Regions from separate parts of the Homo sapiens genome. Here regions 1 and 2 are each linked to region 3. Evidence: promoter capture Hi-C in 16 types of primary human blood cells and fetal thymus (Javierre and others, 2016). All regions are on one chromosome and are shown on one strand. Each heading gives the region's core, a stretch centred on a gene start or on the middle of the fragment in contact. The rest is flanking DNA. Distances are from core to core; before and after follow the strand shown. Region 1 overlaps RNF10 (ring finger protein 10). Region 2 overlaps MLEC (malectin). Region 3 holds the start of SIRT4 (sirtuin 4).

Region 1 (3,050 bases), core at 329-2,828, 260 kb before region 3:
CAGAGGGAGAGCAAGAGGTCTAGAAGGAGTGTCCAGAGAACAAACTTCCGTGGTTTCTTCATCGAAGGCAGACAGATACTCCAGCACACCCTGTTGCAGCAAACTCTAAGTCAACAGAAAGGATATCTCCTGCTTTCCGAAAGCAATGTGGCAAATGCAGACCTAAGAGCCAAGCTCCCTAGATGTTTATCTTAGCTGTCGTGTTCACTGATTTAACACCCCTGGGGAAAGAACTAATAACAAGCATACAGAAAATACTCATTGTCCCCTCTTCTCTTGAGAAGGTTTAGATCTCACAGTAATGCCTACCAGCTCAATGACAGCATTTGAGGAACGGCAGCCACTTAGTAACAGGAACACACTAACCTTCCTGGGTTGAAAAACAGACTCCTTCGCCAAGGGAGCCATCAGCACCAGTTGTTCCAGAGCAGCCACAACACCAGTGACCTCCCTTCTGCTTCCGGCCAATCCCGACAGAGCCTCTTCCCGAGTCTAACGTGGCCAGAGAGAACACCAGAGAAGGTTAAGTTTCCAGACACACACTTAGCTTGAAGGGCAAGGGCTTAGAATGGCCTCTCAACAGGACCAAAAGTTAAAAGGCAATGAGACCCAATGGGAAGGAATTAGGTGCTTAAATATCTCAACTTTGAGGGAAACAGGAAGCAAAAAGCATGCAATACCCACTAAGGATTGGAATCTGCTTAGAATCTGACACTGGGGAGTGTAAATTAGTTCAATCATTGTGGAAGACAGTGTGGTGATTCCTCAAAGACCTAAAGACAGAAATAAAATTTCACCCAGCAATCCCATTACTGGGTATATAGCCAAAGGAATATAAATCATTCTACTGTAAAGACACATACGGCCAGGTGTGGTGGCTCATGCCTGTAATCCCAGCACTTTGGGAGACTGAGGTGGGCGGATCACCTGAGGTTGGAAGTTCAAGACCACCCTGACCAACATGGAGAAACCCCATCTCTACTAAAAATACAAAATAACCCAGGCATGGTGGGGCATGCCTGTAATTCCTGCTACTCAGGAGGCTGAGGCAGGAGAATCACTTGAACCTTGGAGGCAGAGGTTGTGATGAGCCGAGATCACGCCACTGCACTCCAGCCTGGGCAACGAGAGCAAAACTCTGTCTCAAAAAAAAAAAAAAAAAAAAGAAAGAAAGAAAAAGAAAAACCAAATATCGCACACATGTTCTCACTTCTAAGTGGGAGCTAAATGATGAAACATGGACACATAGAGGGGAACACACACTGAGGCCTATCAGAGGGTGGAGAGTGGGAGGAGGGAGGGGATCAGGAAAAATAACCAATGGGTACTAAGCTTAATACCTGGGTGAAAATCTGTATAACAAACCCCCATGACACAGGTTTACCATGTAACAACCTGCATTTGTACCCCTGAACTTAAAAGTTAAAAAAAATAAAAGAGAATCTGACACAAACAACACTATACAAAAAACTTCCAGAACAGAAATCTAAGAACATGAAACTAACCTAGTTTTTACAAACTATGCTCAGACAGAGGTCCAGAGTAGTAGGAAGGATTTAGCTAACTCCACCTCAGCCTGGACAGCTCTAATTCTATGTAGCCTTTCTTATGCCTGTAATGGCATTTGAACAAATACGGCTGCAACGTATTATAGAAAGAAAGCAAAAGTTAAATACACAGGACTCTACCCAAGGAGCCCTTGGGAGTCAGGGAGAAGGGAATTCAAATACCAGCTGCATCCCTTACTAGCAAATTACCCAACCCAGGATTCAGTTTCCTCATCCATGAAAGGGGATAGTTCTATCTACCACACTAGAAGCTTAAGTGAGATAAATGTGTATAGCACAAGTCCTATCAAATGCTGATCACTCAATAAATATGGGCTTCTATTGCTCTAAGCTAGATCAGTGGTTCCAGGAGTGTGGTCTGGGGATGAGCAGCCATCAGAATCACCCTAGAACTTGTTATATGCAAATTACTGAGCCTACTGAGCTTAACCTATGCAATCAATATCTCAAAGTGGGACCTAACAACCAGTGGTTGTGATGCTTCAAGAATCTCTGTTGTGGAAGATAAAAGACCCAGGGAATTCTGTTCTTGTGTAATTCTTGCCGTTTCAGGTACTCCTAAGGCATACTGGGCAGGCCATAATACTTTCTCCACAATGTCTTTCAAAACACCTCTAGAATAGAATCTTAAGTATTTTCCCAGAAAACAAAGAACTCTAACTTGCTTTAAGAACATAGCTAATCTAAAAAACTCCACTGTCACAATTAGTTATAAAATCATTTTGACTTGCTCCTTTCAGCTCTAGAAAGAGCTTTAAAAGCCCTAGGTTAAACCTTCTCTACTGTCATCAAACAAAGCCCAAAACAAATTGGCTTTTTTAGCCATTCTCTGCTTATTGTCTTAAATGTGGAATGGAACTAACTTAATCCCCAGCGTCCATCATCTCACCCCCGACAGAGTGAAAAGGTTTAGCATTTCTGGTTTTCACCACAGAACGCCGAGAAAGTGAAAAGGTTTAGCATCTCCAATGCATCCTCTCACCTTGAGCTCCTGGATAGCTGCCTCAATAAAGCAGGACTCGGGAGTGTGCTTCTCCTCTGCCAGCTGCTGCTCTAGTGCTACTTTCTCCTCCAGAACTACCCGGTGCAGCACCTGCTCCTTAGAGGCCAGCAGCAACTTGGAGTACTGGCTGTGCTGTTCATCTATAAGAATGCCAGCAAGATCAAAGAAATGCAACATTCAAAGCTCACGATGGTGTAGCTAAATAGGAATTTTCAAATACAGCCTTTTCTCTGGGGTGAAAATGGGGTAATTTAGCATGATTTCCTAGAAAATAATTTAACAATGGTCTTAAAATAAGGTCTGTAGCTCTGCTCTTGATATAAGAAATCTAAGAAACCCAGAGATGTAGTCAAAACTTTAGTCACGCGTTTATTGTTACAGCATTGTATGTAATATCAGAAAAGCTCAAACCAGCCAGGCACCATGGCTCACACCTGTAATCCCAGCACTTTGGGAGGTCAAGGCGGGTGGATCACTTG
Region 2 (2,884 bases), core at 175-2,674, 390 kb before region 3:
GGGGAATTTCGATGGGATAGGAACCAAAGCTACTGCCAGAAGCCTGTTTAGTTAGGATGTCCACTGCCCCAGGCAGGTGGTCCCCAGGACCAAGGCTACAGTACCTTATCCTTTAGAAGCAGGGGAGCTGTGTGAAGCACTATGGGAAGTATACCTCTGACTGCAGCCTCGGGCCACAACCCTCCAGCTGCCTGACTCAATACCCTAGCACTGAGACCCAAGTCACAGCGAAAACAACAGGCTACAATTCTCAAACGACTAAATGCTGGCCTGGAGTAATCATTAAAGAGCCAAAACCCAGGACATGAGCCCAAGAGCTACCTATTTTGTCACATAAGGAGCAGTTCAAATATACAGAGCTCTTAAAAAACATATCTAATAAAGCAAACTCAAAATTAAACACATTCTAGAAAAGCGGGCCTGGCCTGAGATCCTATATTGACTGCTCCAGCCCAAGCTGAAGCTAATCCTGCTGTCTCCCATCCACAAAATTCCTTCTAGCTTGGCTGGGTCCTCCTTCATTGTTGCCCTAACTGGGAAATGGATGACAATGGCCAGAAAGGAGGGGACCAGGGAAGCTTCATTTCCTATAGAAATTTTTTCAGGGAATTCAAGATCGACACTTAGATGCTAAGGTTAGCTTCAGAGCTGCCAAGGCTCTGGCTGACTGGAATTCTTTCAGTCCCATCACACCAAGAACCTGACTGCTACTTGGATAGAGAAATGAAAGGACAGGGGAAGGAGGGGCATACTATTAAGATCAATAAGAAGCATCGCTGGGCCTATATAGCTAATTAGTCTAGTTCCTTGAAGTAGCTCTAGGCATAAACCAAAACTGGCTGAACTGTGACACACAAGAACATGGGAATAAATGAACATCAGATACCAGACACTCTAAACAGTGGTCAGTCACTTAGTAGGGCTCAAATCTCTGAGGTTGCTCTTAAGCTATGCTAACATAAGCCTTTTCTAATCCAAAGACCAGAAGAGACTTTTAAGGTCAAGTGTTCTGTTGCTGCAGGCTGGAAAGCATCCCTGCCCCCTGGCAGCAAGGCCCTACAAAGGGGCCAGTAAAGAACTGCTGGGTCAGGTCCTCCTGGCTGCTGGCTCAGAGATCCAGGGAGGGAGGTACCAACAAGGTGAGGTGGTAAAGGAGAAGACATTCAAGCAGAGAACCCCAAATCCCCGTGTCTCCTTCCCTTCTTGGCTATAACTTAGTGGGATGGTTGAGAGGGAGAAGAAATTTCAAATGAGCCAGATTAAGGAAACAAACAAACAAACAAAACTGAGAAGAAATCAAGTCCCCAACAGGCACTGAAATCAAAATGATTTGTTGTGGTAACAAGTCAGAGGCGATCTGAGGACCCGACATAACCGAAACGTCTTGGATGCTGGACAGTCTATAACTGGCACATGCCAGGGAGACAAGCAATGACAAAGCTCAAACACTAAAGGTGGGACCATCACTGGATTAATCCAGAAAGGCTTCCAGATAAGGAAGCATTTTCTTTCTTTTTTTTTAATCTCCCTACTTTTTTTTTTAAGTCTTTACCGCACAAATTCTACCCCTTCACACACATTCTTTCAATCCCAGGACGTCTGAAGTCTTATCTAGACATAACTTCAGACCGTACCTAACTCCCAGTGCTGGTCGTCTCAGGTAATAAGATGGCATTTCCCTGCTGTTAATTTCTAACCTAAAAAAAGGAACAGTGACTCCTCTGAGTTCAGAGTCCTTTCCACTAGGTATACAAATGAGGATCCTTGAGCAGGAAGGATCCAGTTTACCCTAAGTATCCTCAAGAGGAAAGAGAAGGCTGGGAGCCAGCCACAAAGAGAGGACGAGGACTGAAGCACGTCTGGGACCAGGTGGTGAATGAGGGCTGCTCTCTACTCGCTCTGCCTCTTTTTGTCTCCTTTAATTGATGTGTGTTTTTTTCTCTTTGTTTTTGTTCATTAATCATTGTGAAAAATACAGAAACCAAAACCAATATGGCTGGTTTCTTTCCCACACCCCTCCACCCTGTTCAGGATAGTCATTTGTTCTCACAACCGGCAGAGGCAGAAGAGGGTTGGAATGAAGACTCCGAAGGCCACCAGGATGGGAAACATGAGGCTGCTGTTGTCCGAGGCATAGGGGTTGGGTGTGCGGGGGCCTGACTGCACCCGGTTCTTATTGGTCTGTTTTTTGAGATTAGACCCTTCATCATATTCTTCTTCTTCTTCTTCCTCTTCTTTCTTCTCCAATCCCGGATGAGGCTGAAGCTTTGGTACATCTAACACAAGGAAGAAAACACTGTTAAGACCCACAGCATTTAAGTAAGAGAGACCCTTAAAAGCAGCAAATAAGCCACAATAAAGAGATTGCTGTGATTGAACCCGGGTCCAGAGAAAAGACCAGAAGTAGCAGAAATAGCCTCTGGTCTACAGAACAGCAGAGTGCTGCAAAAGCTTTAGATTTAACTAGAAAGTAGAAAAAGCCGTGCTCATAGGGAGGTTCACTATCTTACCTTCCTGTTCTACTTTTACAGAGCCCCAAGATAACCAGACTGGACAGGGACAATGATCCAATGCCTAAACTTTAGCCTTTTCAAATCCCTCCTCCTCCCACAAGCCCACATTCCCTTTTGATTCACACAACAACTGAAGAAACGTTGACCCAGAGAGTTCTGGGTTCCCAGCACACACTATCCCTCTGTCCTGCCTCCTCCTCAGGGACTTGAACACAGGTCTGTTTGGTGGTAAGACATTCATCCTCCTAGATGTCATAATATCAGCATTTGGGGGACATCAAGACAACAGGATGAAATCCTCAGTGCATTCAAGATTGAGTTGGGGAAAGGTACAGAGGTGGAATGGGGGAGAAATGTCACAAAGACGCAGC
Region 3 (2,993 bases), core at 27-2,526:
GCTGACCTGAAAGTCAACGCAAAGCTCATCTTCATTCTAGAGAAAAAGAAGCCTCATGTGAGAAACTGGGGTGGTTTTTTTTTTTTCTCATTTTTTGTTTGTTTGTTTTCGTTTTGTTTTTTGAGACAGAGTCTCCCTCTGTTGCCCAGGCTAGAGTACAGTGGCATGATCTTGGCTCACTGTAACCGCCGCCTCCCGGGTTCAAGTGATTCTCCTGCCTCAGCCTCCAGAATAGCTGGGACTACATGGCCACCATGCCCGGCTAATTATTGTATTTTTAGTAGAGGCAGGGTTTCACCATGTTGGCCAGGCTAGTCTCGAACTCCTGAGCTCTAGTGATCTGCCCGCCTCGGCCTCCCAACGTGCTGGAATTACAGGTGTGAGCCTCTGAGTCTGGCCCTAATGAGTCAGGTTTTGTTTGATTTTGTTCATGTAATTAAGCACACACACGCATTCCTTTTATTTTTTCATTTCCCCCTTATTTTAGTTTACCCTCCACTGCAAGCTCTGCTACTTGGACACATCAGAGAGACAAGACCCCTGCCCGTCAGCTTTTCTAGCTGTAACAATAGAGGGCCGGGTGCGGTGGCTCACGTCTGAAATCCCAGCACTTTGGGAGGCCGACGCAGGCAGATCACTTGAGATCAGGAGTTCGAGACATGCCTGGCCAACATGGTGAAACCCCGACTCTACTAAAAATACAAAAAAAATTAGCCGGGCATTGTGGCACGTGCCCGTAATCCCAGCTACTAGGGAGGCTGAGGCAGGAGAATTGCTTGAACCCGGGAGGCGGAGGTTGCAGTGAGCCGAGATCGCGCCGTTGCACTCCAGCCTGGGCGAAGAAGCAAGACTCCGTATCAAAAAAAAAAAAAAAAAGAAAAAGAAAAAACTTTGACATATTATTTGACACAATGCAATGCATAAATCCTCTAGTGACATGCACCCCGTATGTAAACATTATTTTATGTTTGGCTTTCCAGATCTGAGATCAGGACCCCGCTTTCTCCTTGACATTCCACAGCAAAACGTGAACAGCTGAACAAACACACAGTCCGGTTTCCCGAGACCAAAGGGTCAGGGGAAACCCCCGCTGAAAACGTGCATCAGTGGAACAACTACTCTCTTCCAGGTCCCACCGAGGGCAAAGAGGAGAAATAGAATCCCTCACAAGAAATCCACAACTTCTAGAAATCCGCAGCACACACAGAACACACTTACCTCTCACAGCTCTACGGACACTTCACACCCCACAGTGGGACCGTCTGATTGCATTTGCATTTTGGGACATGTAGTCCAGAAAGCTTAAATGATGCGAGAAAAACCACAAGTCCCACAATCCTCCGCGTCTCGCAATTGACAGCCCCAGATCATCCAGGAACGCCCCCTGTCGGCTCTTTCTGGTCAGAGGTTCCCCCGTTAATATAAAAGCTTTTAATCATGGATTTTTTTCTTTGTTTTCAATTTCTGTGGGCACTTAGTAGGTGTATATATTTATAGTGTACATAAGATTTTTTTTCTTTTTTCTTTTTTTTTTTTAAGACGGAGTTGTTGTTTTTTTTTTTTGAAAAAACTCCAGTCTGGAGTGCAGTGGCACGATCTCGGCTCACTGCAACCTCCCTCTCCCGGGTTCAACCGATTCTCCTGCCTCAGCCTCCCGAGTAGCTGGGATTATTTTTGTATTTTTAGTAGAGACGGGGGTTTCGCCATGTTGGCCAGGCTCGTCTTGAACTCCTAACCTCAGGTGATCCGCACGCCTTGACCTCCCAAAGTGCTGGGATTATAGGCGTGAGCCACTGCGCCCGGCCATCTTTTCTCTTATTTTTTGTCTTTTTTTCTTTTCTCTGTGCCTGTCTATGCTTTACCCACATGAGATGTTTTGATACAAACATGCAATGTGAAATGAGCACGTCATTAATCATGGATCTAGATTTGACTTTTTTTTAAAGTTTTTGTATTTTTAGTAGAGACAGAGTTTCACCATGTTGGCCAGGCTGGTCTCGAACTCCCGACCTCAGGTGATCCGCCAACCTCGGCCCCCCAAAATGCTGGGATTACAGGCCTGAGCCACTGTTCCCGGCCTAGATTTGACTCATTCTAAACATCAGAGTTTGTGATCCTTTTCATTCACAACGACAGTATCAAGTTATTTGCTATTGGTAAAATACCTTGAACTTGTGAAGAAATGTGTTTATACATATCTGAAAAAGTGATAGTTTGTTGTTGTTGTTGTTGTTGTTTGTTTGTTTGTTTTTGAGACGGAGTCTCGCTCTGTTGCCCAGGCTGGAGTGCAATGGTGCCATTTCGGCTCACTGCAACCTCCGCCTCCCGGGTTCAAGCAATTCTCCTGCCTCAGCCTCCTGAGTAGCAGGGATTATGGGCGCATGCCACTACGCCCGGTTAATTTTTTTATTTTTAGTAGAGACAAGGTTTCACCATGTTAGCCAGGATGGTCTTGATCTCCTGACCTCGTGATCTGCCCACCCTAGCCTCCCAAAGTACTGGGATTACAGGCGTAAGCCACTGTGCCCAGCCAAAAGTGATGTTTTTACAGTTAATATGAAGCCAAATATATTATACCTGGACTAATGTACTTAACCTGCTTGGCTTCTCCAATTTTATTTATCATATTTTTTTTATTAAGTTAATCAAACAAGGCCTGCGTCTCACTCCCAGGGATTCTGATCTACAAATTTCCTAATTGTTCCTAATGTGTAGACAACCAGAACTGCCGCTCTGCAGCATCACCTAAATCAATAAATGTATAAGTGTCTTTGGACATAAAGGTGGGCGGCCAGCAGGGACCTTGAAGACCACCTAAGGACTCCCTTCCCCCATTTTAAGATGAATTGGGCTGAGTGCAGTGGTTCCCACCTGTAATACCAACACTTTGGGAGGCCAAGGCAGGAGGATCACTTGAGCCCAAAAGTTCAAGACCAGCTTGGGCAACATAGTGAGACCCACTCACTACAAAAAATAAACAAAATTAGCGGGGT

The links. The method cuts DNA at HindIII sites, captures the fragments that hold promoters and counts their contacts. A CHiCAGO score of 5 or more calls a contact.
Region 1: a fragment that was not itself captured here is called in contact with the fragment with the promoter of SIRT4 in region 3 in 1 of 17 cell types (M2 macrophages); the score reaches 5.0 in M2 macrophages.
Region 2: a contact is called between a fragment that was not itself captured here and the fragment with the promoter of SIRT4 in region 3, in 3 of 17 cell types (naive CD8 T cells, non-activated CD4 T cells and naive CD4 T cells). The highest score is 5.6, in naive CD8 T cells.

The regions. Positions count from the first base shown.
Region 1 is chr12:120,560,387-120,563,436 of GRCh38, reverse strand. It overlaps RNF10 (ring finger protein 10), which reads right to left. Exons shown (of 17, transcript NM_014868.5): 7 at 2,551-2,711; 8 at 367-492; 9 at 1-90. Among named protein-coding and RNA genes, the nearest start is that of POP5, 19 kb to the left of the region's middle. The HindIII fragment of the contact is 487 bases long and covers 1,335-1,821 here.
Region 2 is chr12:120,695,708-120,698,591 of GRCh38, reverse strand. MLEC (malectin) reads right to left here. Exons shown (of 5, transcript NM_014730.4): 5 at 1-2,276. The coding sequence ends at 2,047. Among named protein-coding and RNA genes, the nearest start is that of MLEC, 10 kb to the right of the region's middle. The HindIII fragment of the contact is 1,687 bases long and covers 581-2,267 here.
Region 3 is chr12:120,300,604-120,303,596 of GRCh38, reverse strand. SIRT4 (sirtuin 4) reads right to left here and starts at 1,276. Exons shown (of 4, transcript NM_012240.3): 1 at 1,219-1,276; 2 at 1-36. The coding sequence starts at 35. The HindIII fragment of the contact is 5,713 bases long and covers 1-1,303 here.